Linked DNA regions of Homo sapiens: regions 1, 2 and 4 are each linked to region 3. The links are contacts of gene promoters, found by promoter capture Hi-C in human tissues and cell types (Jung and others, 2019). All regions are on one chromosome and are shown on one strand. The core of a region is centred on a gene start or on the middle of the fragment in contact, and the rest is flanking DNA. Distances in the headings are between cores, read along the strand shown. Region 1 has its middle 35 kb from the start of LINC02134. Region 2 overlaps LOC105371237 (a long non-coding RNA gene). Region 3 holds the start of ABCC12 (ATP binding cassette subfamily C member 12). Region 4 overlaps LINC02134 (long intergenic non-protein coding RNA 2134).

Region 1 (3,113 bases), core at 441-2,940, 230 kb after region 3:
TTGTGCTGGTGTGAGAGCAGAGGAGAAACACAGTAGGAGAGTTTTTCCAAAACAATGCTAATGGAAGCCAGGTTTCTCGTGGTTGGAGAAGGAGTTAAGAATATGGAAAGAGAGAAATGAGAATGAAACCTGTGGCATTAGGTTGGAATCAGTATGAACTCATGATAGGCAGAGAGATAACTAGAATTAAAAATAAATATAGATGTTTATATGTATACGTATTTATAAGAGTGTGTGTGTGTCTGTGTGTGTGTGTGGAGAGAGAGAGAGAGAAAGAGAGAGAGAGAGAGAAAGAGCCAAAAGCCATGAGCACATTTAACACCCAGCTCTTACAATTTCTAAATACCATTCTCCACCAAAAGTAACCAGGATTCTTTGGAGAAGTGGCAGGTGTCAAGGCTGGAGCTGAAGAGCCTGGAGAATCTTGTGCCAGAAAGCAAGGAGTGCTCAGAGAATGATGGAAACCTGAGAGAAGGAGAAAAGACAGACTGGAAAGGCTCTCACTGGTCAAATCTGGGACAGTTTGAACATCAAAATAAATAATGACAGTATTAGATTATAACTAGTTGAATAAAATAAGAATCTATGAGTCCATATAGATATAAATAAATAAATGGAAGAAAGAGAAAGCTTTTTCTCCCAGCAGAAGGAATGATAGAATTAGAAATTCACTGTTTGGCAACTATCAAGAGTAATGATTAATTCATCCAAAAAACATCAATGGATGCCAAAAGTAGTCCTTAAAATTTGAGGAGGAACAGGATATTTACATAGTATCAAAGTATCTCCCTATAAAATGCTTATAAATTACAAAGAATAAAAGAGTAGCTTTTTTATGGTGTAGAGACTTGACAGACACCACCTTAATCAAGTAATCAAAGTTAACATTAAAGTAATGGGACACACCAATGTCGTACGCCATTCCATATGATGCAATGGGAGGAACACAGCGTAACTTCTGTGACATTTTGCCAAAGATGCATTATCTTGGTGTAATCATGAAGAAATATCAGACAAATGCAAATTGTAGTACATTCTAAAAATAACTGTCCTGTGATCTTGACAAGTGTCAAGGTCATAAAAGTCAAAGAAAGAGAAACTCTTCCAAATTGAAGAAGACGAAAGAGATCTAACTAAATCTAGTGGTGCTGGGTTGGATTATTTTGCTATAAAGGACATGTGGTATAACTGGTGAAACTTGAATGGGGTCTGGGGCTTGAATGGTAACTCATATTTTGATGATTGATTGTGGTTATGAAGAGAATGTTCGTGTTTGCAGAAATTACACACTCAACCATTCAGGGGTTATGGGCATCATATCACTTACCCGCTAATGGTCAATGAAAAATATTTTGTAAATTGCTTAAACTTTTCTGTAAACTTGAAGTTGTTTCAAAATAAAAAATAATTATATTTAGTATGTAAAAAGAAATTCACTGTAAAATAAATACAATAAAAAATAATGTTATGGCTGGGTGGGGTGGCTCACGCCTGTAATCCCAGCACTTTGAGAGGCCGAGGCTGGCAGATCACCTGAGATCAGGAGTTCAAGACCAGCCTGGTAAACATGGTGAAACCCCGTCTCTACTAAAAATACAAAAATTAGCCGGGTGTGGTGGTGGGTGTCTGTAATCCCAGCTACTCGGGAGGCTGAGGCAGAAGAATTGCTTGAACCTGGGAGGTGGAGGTTGCAGTGAGCCGAGATCACGCCACTGCACTCCAGCTTGGGCAACAGAGCGAGATTCTGTCTCAAAAAATAAAAAATTTAAAATAATAACTTTATTTAACTAGCTAGTTCTGTTGCCTACCAAGAGAAGGGCTGGGGGCTTGAGATCTATTTTCCCCTTGTTTGAAATAGAGATTAGCAAGTGTTCAGTGTTCAGGACATTCCTACAACAAACAGAATTTCTTCTGTCATTGGAAGGGGGAAACAAATTTTTTAAAAAGAATAACTTTCTTATGATATGTCTTCTTGTTTGTGTTTACCTAAAATCATTTCCTCTACCACTCATAGTGTTTGGCCCACGCTTTAGGAAACACTGGAAAGCAATTACCCAACTATATATTTAATAAATGGTTATGTGTGAGTAGATACATCAGGATAAACTGTTTCTCTAATATCCCATTAATTGCTTGTAATAGAAGAATGCAGGCAATGAGAACATTGTTAATTGAAAACCTCAACTTATCTCCATGCTTCATCCCATTTATCTCAAATTCTTTCACACTTGACCAATGTAATGTTCAGCCTCCTTCTCTTGATACTCAGTCTTTGAGGCCTAGAGTGTCCATGGAATGTGTTCTAAGCTCCAGACTCCAATATTTAGCTGCCTAGTGGCACCTCAGTATGTATACCACACCAGCAACAAAGCTAAATGTTTCCTCTCCTCCATCCCAGCTCTCAAATATGCTCCTTTCCTGCCCATCCTGCCATGGTGAGTGGTGGCACCCTCATCTACCAGTTTCTCAAGCCAAGATCCTGGGCATCATTCCAGACCCCACCTGATCTCCCTTGTCATCTCCTTCCCTCTAGATTCTCTCCATAACTGAGGCCTGTGGTGCATACACATTTCCCCACATCCACTACCCCCATTCCAGGCCAAGCTCCTAACTGGCCACTCCACTCCCACCCCTGCCCCTGACCCCCTCCAATTCACTCTCCAAGCTGCAGCCAGAATTATTTTTTTTTAAAGAAAATACAATTTTGTAGCTCTCTTCCATAAAACCTTTCAAAGCTGCGCTGCTTAATGCAGTAGTCATTAGCCACGTGTGACTATTTAGATTTAAATTAATTAAAATGAAATAAAATTAAACATTCAGTTCCTCCATTGCACTAGCCACATTTCAAATGTTCAATAGTCATGCAGCTAATATAGGACAGCCCAGATGACAGAACACAGAAACTTTTCATAGGATAATGCTGCCTCAAAAGCTTCCCATTGCATTTGGATAAAGCCAAAATTCTTTGCGAGGTCTACATGGCCAACCTGATTAAATCTGAGCTCCTTTTCCAAACTTCTTGCCTGTCTCTTCCTCCACCATCACCAACTCCAGGCACACTGGGCTTCTTCTCATTTCCTCACACAAACCAAGGTCTTTGCTCTCTCAGGGCC
Region 2 (3,582 bases), core at 941-3,440, 200 kb after region 3:
CCCCCTACTGATCACGCTTGACATCTGATCAAGTTCTTCATCCCTCACCCTTGGTGTCTAAATCCTTGGCCTGTCTTTAGCAAGAATCCTATCAGGCCAGTGTTAGAGATCAAATGCTTGTGTCCTCTTGCCCCAAGTTACATGTGTCAGCCCTCACCCCCAGTGTGATGATATTTGGAGAAGGGCCTTTTGGGAGGTAATTAAGGTTAGATTAGGTCGTGAGGATATAGCCCTCGTGATGTAATTAACGGCCTTAAAAAAGAAAAAGAACTGACAAGAGATCTCTCTCTCTCTCTCTCTCTCTCTCTCTCACTCTCTCTCTCTCTCTCTCTCACTCTCTCTCTCTTCATATGGACAAGAAAGGCCATATGAGGACACAGCAAGACAGCCACAAGCCAGGAGAGAAGCCCTTACCAGAACCTGCCCTTGCTGGCTTCCTGATGTCAGACTTCCAGCCTCTGGAACTGTGAGAAAATCAATGTCTGTTGTTTCAGCCATCCAGTCTATGGCATTTGTTATGGCAGTCCAAGCTAAGACAGTCAGTTTAGCAAGAAGTTCCTTGCCTTTGATGTCCCTCCTCAGTAATTTTCTATCCCCTGACCCCCTCACCCTACTGCTTGGCTGTAAATCCCCACTTATCCTTGCTGTATTTGGAGCTGAGCTCAATCTCTCTCTCCTATTACGATACTTCTATTGCAACAATCTTAAATAAAGTCTTCCTTACCATTTTAACAAGCTTCTGAATATATTTTTCTTTAGCAAGCAAACATGCAGGGTCTCTTTGTCTCTTTGTACCTGGCAAAGTTTCATCCATCCTTAAGTTCCAACGTTACCTTGTTTTCCATCTTTCCTTGAGGACCCTGGCCTCCCCTAACAGCAGGAAAGGCTCTCATTTAGCACCTGTCTCACTGCATTGTGGTTGGGGTTTTTACATGGCTGTCTCCTCTGTGGCGAACCCCTGGAGGCCGGACTGTGTCTGTCTTTGTGTCTGTCTTTGTGTCTCCAGCACCCAGTCCGGACCTCGCATGAGGAGAAGCTCACTTCAGCCTGTTTAACTGCACTGCCTCCCTGTAGAGTCAAGTCCTGTGCTCAAAGTGCAGGCAGACCTTTCTGGGCTGGGGAAGTCAGTGAGGGCTTCATGGTGGATGGGAAGGGCTCAACAAAGCAAAGAACAGGAAGGAGAGCACCACTGGCTTGGGAGCAGCATAGTAAACAAATGGAGGACTGTGGCACAGTCATCACGTGGGGAAGTGGTTCATCAGGCATCATCCAGCGTCCAGAAGCAACTCAAGATTGGAGCAATTATTGTATATAAATTATAACTCAATTAAAAATTAGGCTTCTTATAAATTTATCTCCTGCAATGCAAGACATAGGAAACTTGGCAGGTTGTCAAGACAGACAGGACCAAGGACCTGGAATGTTAGCAAGATCCTGGGCGGATGGCCTCTTACCTCTTGCTCTCTCCAAGCTCAACTTCTCTCAGACCAGCTGCATTTGTTCCACACACACACATAGTCCAGCCTGGATATCCCCAACTCACCCCCACAGCCCTGCAGTTCATAATACCTTCCAGCCTAACTGCACAGTGGATCTGCAGCATCTCACAGAGACACTAGTTAGTAGCAGAGTTAGGCTGGAAGGTATTATGGTCCCATCAGCTATGTTATGGGAAGGGGGATGCCTAAGAGGCTGTGAGGATCTACTTCCATGGTGGTGGAGAGAAGGAGGCCTAGGCTGACACATCCATGGATGCGTCAACAACAGGGCATGCTGTGGAACTTGTGATTGGGACCCTGTATTGAATCAGGACTGCAAATTTGAGTGCCAACTGGGCTAGACAGGTAATTTAAATTAGTGAAGAGCATAACAAACTGGCAAGTTCATCCTCTGCCCCAAAGGGGAGCACCTGGACCAGAATAGAGGGTTTGCATAAAAAGAATTTAAAAATAAGAGGAAAATTGTGTCCAGAATTGGTTCCTTCCAGTGGGTTCTTGGTCTCGCTGACTTCAAGAATGATGCCACAGACCCTTGCGGTGAGTGTTACAGTTAAAGATTGTATGTCTGGAGTTTGTTCCTTCAAATGTTCAGATGTGTCCAGAGTTTCTTCCTTCCGGTGGGTTCGTGGTCTCGCTTACTTCAGGAGTGAAGCTGCAGACCTTTGCAGTGAGTGTTAAAGCTCTTAAAGGTGGCGGGTCCAGAGTTGTTTGTTCCTCCCTGTGGGTTGGTGGTGTCGCTGGCTTCAGGAGTGAAGCTGCAGACCTTCGCAGTGAGTATTACAGCTCATAAAAGCAGTGCAGACCCAAAGAGTGAGCAGCAGAAAGATTCATTGTGAAGAGCAAAAGTACAAACATTCCACACCTTGGAAGTGGACCAAAGTGGGTTGCCGCTTTGGCTCAGGTGGCCAGCTTTTATTGCATGATTCGGCCCCACCCACATCCTGGTGATTGGTCCATTTTACAGAGCAGTGATTAGTCCGTTTTTACAGAGTGCTGATTGGTGCGTTTACAAACCTTTAGCTAGATGCAGAGCATTGATTGGTGCGTTTTTACAGAGTGCTGATTGGTGCATTTACAAACCTTTAGCTAGACACAGAGCGCTGATTGGTGCGTTTTTACAGAGTGCTGATTGGTGCATTTACAAACCTTTAGCTAGACACAGAGCACTGATTGGTGTGTTTACAATCCTTTAGCTAGACAGAAAAGTTCTCCAAGTCCCCACCTGACCCGGAAGCCCAGCTGGCTTCACCTCTCAAAATTATGTCCTTTGCAGCAACATGGATGGAGTTAGAGGTCATTATACTAAGCAAATTCATGCAGGAACAGAAAACCAAACACTGCATGTTCTCACTTGTAAGTGGGGACTAAACAATGAGCAAAGAGGGGAACAATAGACACTGGGACCGACTTGAGGGTGGAGGGTGGAGGAGGGTGAGGGTCGAAAAACGACTTTTCAGGTACTATGCTCATTACTTGGATGATGAAATAATCTACACCCCAAACCCCCCCAGGACACACAATTTACCCATGTAACAAACCTGCATGTGTACCCCCGAACCTAAAAGAAGAGTTTGCAAAAAAAATGAAATTAAATAAAAACTAAAAATAAAATTAATTTGATTACAAAAAAAAAAAAGAATTGGACCAACTGAAAGCCCCGCAGGGTCATGCACAGTATCTTTTAGGCAAGAAAGAGCCTATGCTCTAGAAATACTTTAATACTGGGCTCCACGTTCCTCGGGGGGGAGGGTATCCTGTACCCCTCTTAGAAATGCCTTTCCAAGCATGAGGACCACAGAGAGCAAGCACAAAGCAATCCAGGGCTCAGCTGCAGAATGGCACTCCATGCACAGAAATGCAGTTATAAGCACTGTAATAGCCTGCCTCCTCTCATTACAGAGACTACCCTTCCTCACACCCCAGAGGTGCAGAGGCCTTCACATCTCCTGACAGCATTGGCAGGTGCACGTTGAGATTTCCGGGCCTCCAGATGGGGCTGCACCAACCGGCCCTAATTGCCATTTTGAGAAGCGGAGCAGACCTGTCTCATCTGGAAGGGCCCATGCTGGAAGCGGGAGCGTCT
Region 3 (3,297 bases), core at 759-3,258:
ACATGTATATCACTGTACACAATTTTTTTTTTTGAGACAGAGTCACTCTCATCATCCAGGCCTGAATGCAGTGGCACGATCACAGCTCACTGCAGTCCTGACTTCCCTGGCTCAATTCATACTCCCACCTCAGCCTCGCAAGTAGCTAGGACTACAGACACATGCCACCACGCCCAGCTAATTTTTGTATTTTCAGTAGAGATGGGGTTTCACCATGTTGCCTAGGCTTGTCTTGAATGCCTGGGCTCAAGTGATCCACCTGCCTTGGCCCCCCAGTACTGGGATTATAGGCCTGAGCCTCTGCACACAGCCAAAATAGAATTTTTAAAGGAAGAGGAGAAATATGAAAAGGATTTCTATTTTTTTTCTTTTTGTATTCCAGTGGATTATCTCGCCCCCCCGCGAGCTGTGTGTACACCCAGGATGGGCCTCAGTTCCCTGACTATGGGTGAGTCCACGCTCTGCCTGGAACAGGAGCTTGGCTGGTCTTTTCCTAAGGACTTCCTTGGATACAGACCGGACAGTCCCTCTCCATCATTCTCCACTCTGTTTCCGGCTAGGCCCACCAATCTTCTTGCGTAGCGCCCAATACTGTTTGTCTGGGTGGAAATCCATCTCCGCCCAGCCTTTCATGGAGATAGAGGAAAACTGATCGGCATTCTTCCTCCATAAACTTGACAGCACTTGACTCCGTTTGGAAGATTGTGGAAGCGAGTCTTTGCTGTGTTTATGAGACCCCCGGGGTTGTTGCGAAGATCAAGTGATAAAGAGGATGAAGAATTTTGCGATACACAAAGGGCTCCAGAAATGTCGAGTGATATTATTAGCAGTGATTTGCATTCATGAAGGGAAGAATGGACGGAAATTAAATGGAACACTTTGGACACGTGTAAGGAAACTGCTGTCGGTCTAGCTCACTCCCCAGGCCGGGGAGCCTTCCTGGGAGGACCCATTTTCCTACACAGCTGCCCACAGCCCCTCTCCATTTCCACCTCCCTCTAGGTAGGAAGGGAACTCAGGTTGGGCAAAGGCGGTGAATTCGCATCTCCAGGAAGCGGCGGGGCCGGAAGGCAGCCAGCAGGGGGCGGCATTGCGCAGGACAGGAGAAGGTAGCGGCCAAGTTCCTCATGAAATCCACGTGCGTGAGGCTGGGAAGGTCCTCTAAGATGTTTAAATAACCCTTAAAGCGGAATCAAGATTTGTTTTTTTCTGCAGTTAGAGAGTTTGCTCCCTCCCAGCCGGCTCGCTGAGCGCTGTGGAACCCTTCGGCTGGGCTCCCCTGAAATCGGGCGCTTGTTCTGGGACAGGCGCAGAAGGGACCCCGGGAATCACGCTTGCGCTCGGGATGTGCAGGGTTCCAAGGGTGACACAGGGGAACTTTTCTATGCAAGGGCTAGCTGCTAGTGCAGGTCTCAGACTTACCTTCCGTTCATTTCAAGACAAATTGAGCTCAAATTACCCTTTTCTTTTTCGTTAAATGAATGGGGAATGAATGAATGAGATTTTCTGTTTTGAAGATGAGGCTCATCTCCCCTCCCCTCGCCTCCCCTGCCCTCCCCTACCCCTGCCCTCCCCTACCCCTGCCCTCCCCTCCCCTCCCTTCCCTTCCCCTGATCCCAAAGTTGATTCCCGGTTGCAGGAACACAGCGTAGAAAATTCGATGCATTCTCTCAGGAAGGAGCCTGGAGTGGGACTCAGGGGACCTGGGTGCTGGTCTCAGCCCCACGCCAGTCGTGGACAGGCTTCTGTTCCTTGGGCTTCTCGTCTGTAGAATGACGGTTGGAGAGAGGATTTTTCTCCTTCTCTTCTACAAGGATGTGCTGTGACAGCCAGGGAAGGGCTGGCCATGCACAGTGCTTTCATGCATGGGCTCTGACTGTCACCAAAGAGCCAGACCCGGCCACAGGCCATCCTGGAAGAGGGGAGAGCCCTTTAATGTGGGCAGAGGGAATGTTGGCCCGCCAGAGTTCCCTCTCAGGTGTGGTGGGAGTGGCAGTTGAATGGGGCAGTTGGAGAGGAGGACTTCAGGCGGGTGGGACAAGAGAAACTGAATCTGAGGTCCTTGGGGAGAAGCAGGCCCTGGAGTCCTGGGCAGCAGATGCCAGGCTCTGAGCCCCATGACTGCTGACCCTCCTCCCCTCCCTCTCATCCTCAGCCCAGGTAAAGCTTCATTTCCAGCCCAGGTAAAGCTTCTCCCTGTAACAATTAGTGGCCACCATTTAGTCCCAAGGGCCTTTGTTTCTCATCCTCAGGACAGGCTGTGTGTGTGTGTGGTGGGGGGTTTGGGGGAGGTGACACCACTGAATGGGGCTGCCCAAGTGGGAGGCAGCAGGGACGAGGCTCCCAGAAGAAAGGCAGCCCCTCTTCCACTTTTGGAGCCCCCGCTATCATAAAAGAAAAGGCAGAAATGCCAAGACGCGATTTCAAAATCTCTGAAATACAAAAGCCTACATTGAATATTTTAAGTCTTTTCCCACACATGCACAAACACAAACACATATACAGGGTAGTGTTCACAATTTAATTATGGGATTTATACCTCCCCCCCAAAAAAAAAGACCTGGAAAGCTTTACTGCAGTTCTCATATGAGGTTTTCATCTTTCTTTCTTTTTTTTTTTTTTTTAACTTTTAAATATATTATTTTCCTGGGAGGGTAGATTTGAATTGCTCTGAATCCAGGCTCTGCATCCTTCTTTGATCGTGTCGGAATGTGTCTGTAACTGGATGGATGACCTCTTTTGGAGATGCCATCACTGGCCACTGTTTTAGGCCTTCTGGGAGATGAGGGTACTTGAGCAAAAGCACCCCCACTTCCCTTCCCACACCCCCAGCTTGGTGCTGTCCCCTGCATGCACTTCCCTCTGCCACCTCTCTGCCTCTCCCTGCCTCCCAACCCCAGTCCCTCATCACTCACAGGGCTTTCTGATCTGGCTGCCACAGGTGCCTGGGACCTGGGGACAGACAGGAGAGGTGCGGTGCAGGCAGGGCCTGGGAGAGCTCCCCAGTGTCTCCTCTGTGCTGGAGGCCAGTCAGGCCCTGGAGGAAGGGGCTGTGGGAGTTGGGGGAGACCATCAGATATTGATAACTTTGGTGGCTTTAAATTAACAATGGATTTATTAAGAAAGAAGTAGGGCTGTAGTCTCATACCTGGGAAAAATTTTATGACTAAAGGTGTGCCTGCTTTTGGTTGATGGAGGAACTCCCATCATGAGCACCAAGGAAGACCCAGAGTCCAGTTCTCAAACATAAAGTTGTTAATTTTCTGGGCTAGACAGGGGCAGAAATGAAATATAACA
Region 4 (3,446 bases), core at 519-3,018, 180 kb after region 3:
GGACCTGCAGTGTGCTGGCAGGGTCCCAAGAGCTGGGAACACATCTGTGAACATCAGACAACAATCGTGCTCTTCTGGAGCTGATATTTGATCATTATAATTCTCTGAGGCAGGCAGGTATCAGTACCCCTACTTATTAGACCATCCACCTAAACTTTAGAGAAGTTAAAGATTTACCCAAGTTATGCAGCTATTGGGTTATGGAGTCAGAATATCAAACCTGATAAGACTCATCCTTAAGTTTAAAATATGCGCTTATTTTAAAATCATGTTATACCTTAATAAAAATGGTGGAAGTGATAGAATATAAAGTTAAAGATAAGTTCCATCCTTCATTGTCTCTAGCCTCACCTGATGAAGGCTGTTGGACATCCTGAAACAGGCTATGTTTTTCCTCACCTCTCTCACATTTTTCTTTTCGGGCCCTTCTCTCCATTCAAATTGCCCTATTTTGTCACCCAGGATCCTCAACTTGCTCCCAATTGCTTAAACACAGCTGTCTGTCCTGCTCCCTCTTCTCCTACTCCCCAAAATACTACTTGGCACACTCTTTCTATGCACTCGTTGATCACTGAATACCTAGAGGATGCTGGGCATGGTGGCAAGTGTGGGGAGGCACATTCAGAAAGAATAAGACACAGGCTGTCTCCCTCCAGGGGCCTGTATTTGCACTTTAAATTGGGATTTTTCAACCCAAAAAAGGCTCTAAGATCTAAAAATGCAGCTCAAATGGTAGATTTTTCAGGTACTTTAAAAGATATTCCATTAGACCATTTGTTCATTATCCAGGAGCTTGCCAAAAATGCATATTCCCAGTCTCCCTCCTCAGATATTCTATACTCTATAGTTCTGGGGTGGGGGGCAGGAATCTGCACATTCAGCAAGTTTCCCAGGGTCCACGTACAACATTTTTTGAAAAGCATTGGTGTACTGGGGGAGATTGTATTGTGCACCCCCTCTAGGAATCCCACTGTGATGGCCACACCCATGATACTTCTGTTGAGGAACTTATCACACTCGATTGCAGCTGTCTGTCTGTGTCTACCACCAGACAGTGGAACCCATTCCTATTCATCTTTGTAGCTCATGTCTCTGGCACATAGTGCCATACCAGAGACATGAGGTAAACATTTATCAGATGTATAAAGATGTGCACAACTCCACATTAGTCACACACACACACATCATTGTCATCATCACCATCATCATCGTCGTCGTCATCATTGTCATCTACTGTATTCACATGGAAAAAGCTGGTCCTAGCTCTGCCCCACTACGTGGTGCCTGGCATGAATACCTGCTTTTGCAACATGCTAAGAAGGAAGGCTTCATAAAGCCATAGTTGACTTGGCAGCTGGAGAAAAGTACAAAGGCATATTGCAAGAAGAGAGTTAAACTCTTGATTTATTCCCATTTCCATCTAGCATGAAACCTACAATAATAAAATTGAGTGTTTTGGTGAAGATCACAGAGCAAGTTGTTCAGATCTAGGGATAGAACTACACATTTTTTTTTTTTTTACTTTCTATGAAGTTCTTATTGCTCTGATCAAATCTAAGAAATCCAAACCCAAACATCTGTGATCTCATGCCACTATCTTATAGCACTTGTGGCATTAGTAAAAATATAATTATATATTTGTAAAATCTTATTTTTCATATTGTAGATACAATAAATATAACTAGAATATCTAATTCTTGACAGCAATGGATCATCTTGCAATCACTCCACTTTGGGAAGCCCTACATTATATCAGGGGTTCATAAATGCTCTTCTAGTTTGGGAGCCACAGGGAAGGAAGCCCAGCATCATATGCAGAAATAAAAATGGAAAGATTTAAAAGACAGAGAGAGATGAGGGAGAAAAGCAAGAAGGAAGGGAGGGAGAGAGTGGAAGAAGGGAAAGAAGGAGCAAGAAGAAAAGAAAGGAAGAAAGGGAGAAGAAAAGAAGCAAAGAAGGAAGAGAGGTCTGAAGCCACAGATTTTTATTTGAAGATGACTGCATTATATGCACAGGGGATCATTTCACAATATTAACTCACAAACAATAAGCTTGGATTAGTCAAAGGCACACTAAGGTCAGATTTGCTGTTTCCCACACTTTCCTCATTGCTATGTATAATTAAGTGAATTTGGTAGGACACAAAGTAAAAATGCCCCTCCTTCATGGCATCCCTAATGCTTCTTGAGAGCCCACGAATGCATTTATGGCCAGTATCTCTGTAATCCAGGCAGCACTGTTTTTCACGTTCAGCTTCCAGGCACTTGATTGAGACTCCAGCACAATGCATCCCTGATAATAAAACAGATAAGGTAGTTACTATGTTTAAATGGAGACAGCCCATTTGTGAATATGCCAGAATTTGCTGTAATAGAATTAAATAAGGAAAATACTATTGTGAACCCAGAAAATCTCTACAAGTGCTGAACTGTTTATAACACATTGCTCTGTACTTCACATATTTTGAAAAAACTTTAAAGGTCACCTGGCTCAATCTCCAAACTATAAATTAAATATTGAAAAACAAAGTCACATTATCTTTTGAGAGGCCTCAGTTTCTTCATCTGTAAAATGAGAGGACTGAACAAGGTTTATTCCAGTTTCAACATCTCATAAGTCAGCAAGAATACCTAGGAGCAGTAATTAGTCATGGTCCCTTTGGTGCATGGTCAAGCATATTGAGTAAGGAATGAAAACTGTATCTCTCTTATTTGCTTCAAATATTAACTTACAAATGCTAACTTTAACTTGAACTGTGTAATGGCAATCTGATTTAGTCTGGAAATTATACCTAGATAGATCTAGAAATAGAAACACTTCCACTTCTTTCAGGGATAACCTTTCATTTCTATGATTTTACCTGACCCCTTACCAAATGTGAAACCTCAGTAGAAGTGTCAAAAGGGTAGCAAAGTTTCTAAAGAAAAAAAAGCAGGTTTTCTCAGACTTCCACAAATGCTAATTACTCATAATGACAAGTCATTACCCAAATCAATTTCTGGAAAGTCACAAGGACTTGACAGGTCAAAGCTGAAATGTCATCTCAGCCTCCAGTAAGAGACTCTGCCAAATTAACCTTCAGCATACCCACACACCCTTTTTCCAAAGAGAGGAAGCACAAATAGAAAGGAAGATTCAGCACCTTGGAGAGAGGAAACCGACTCAAGGTATACACATGGGAAGATGAGAGAGGCCACTGAGCTCCAGGAGCTAAGGGCTGGTATAAGGGCGTCCTCCAGCACAACTTAAGCTACATGACATAATTATGGCCTTTTGTGGGGACAGGACTCATGCAACAGACACAAATGCAGCTCTCTGAAATTCAGAAGTGGGGACATGGGAACATCTGAGCCCTTTGGGATAGGAAGAGGCTGAGACACTTGGCTGCCGATAGCACTGGATCTCATTAAAACAAATGCTAGTTCTAGACGGATTTCTATTAACAG

The links. The method cuts DNA at HindIII sites, captures the fragments that hold promoters and counts their contacts. A contact is called where the count stands out against the background at its distance.
Region 1: a contact is called between a fragment that was not itself captured here and the fragment with the promoter of ABCC12 in region 3, in 2 of the 25 tissues and cell types used here (H1 embryonic stem cells and dorsolateral prefrontal cortex).
Region 2: a fragment that was not itself captured here is called in contact with the fragment with the promoter of ABCC12 in region 3 in 2 of the 25 tissues and cell types used here (IMR-90 fibroblasts and lymphoblastoid cells).
Region 4: a fragment that was not itself captured here is called in contact with the fragment with the promoter of ABCC12 in region 3 in 1 of the 25 tissues and cell types used here (adrenal gland).

Annotation. Positions count from the first base shown.
Region 1 is chr16:47,928,964-47,932,076 of GRCh38, reverse strand. No RefSeq gene overlaps it. Among named protein-coding and RNA genes, the nearest start is that of LINC02134, 35 kb to the left of the region's middle. The HindIII fragment of the contact is 3,506 bases long and covers 1-3,113 here.
Region 2 is chr16:47,949,881-47,953,462 of GRCh38, reverse strand. LOC105371237 (a long non-coding RNA gene) reads left to right here. Exons shown (of 4, transcript XR_933513.2): 4 at 360-424. Among named protein-coding and RNA genes, the nearest start is that of LINC02134, 14 kb to the left of the region's middle. The HindIII fragment of the contact is 8,848 bases long and covers 1-3,582 here.
Region 3 is chr16:48,154,704-48,158,000 of GRCh38, reverse strand. ABCC12 (ATP binding cassette subfamily C member 12) reads left to right here and starts at 2,008. Exons shown (of 31, transcript NM_001393797.1): 1 at 2,008-2,160. RefSeq lists an enhancer at 1-24. The HindIII fragment of the contact is 12,201 bases long and covers 1-2,379 here.
Region 4 is chr16:47,970,209-47,973,654 of GRCh38, reverse strand. LINC02134 (long intergenic non-protein coding RNA 2134) reads right to left here. Exons shown (of 2, transcript NR_146502.1): 2 at 1,968-2,292. Among named protein-coding and RNA genes, the nearest start is that of LINC02134, 6.2 kb to the right of the region's middle. The HindIII fragment of the contact is 3,322 bases long and covers 108-3,429 here.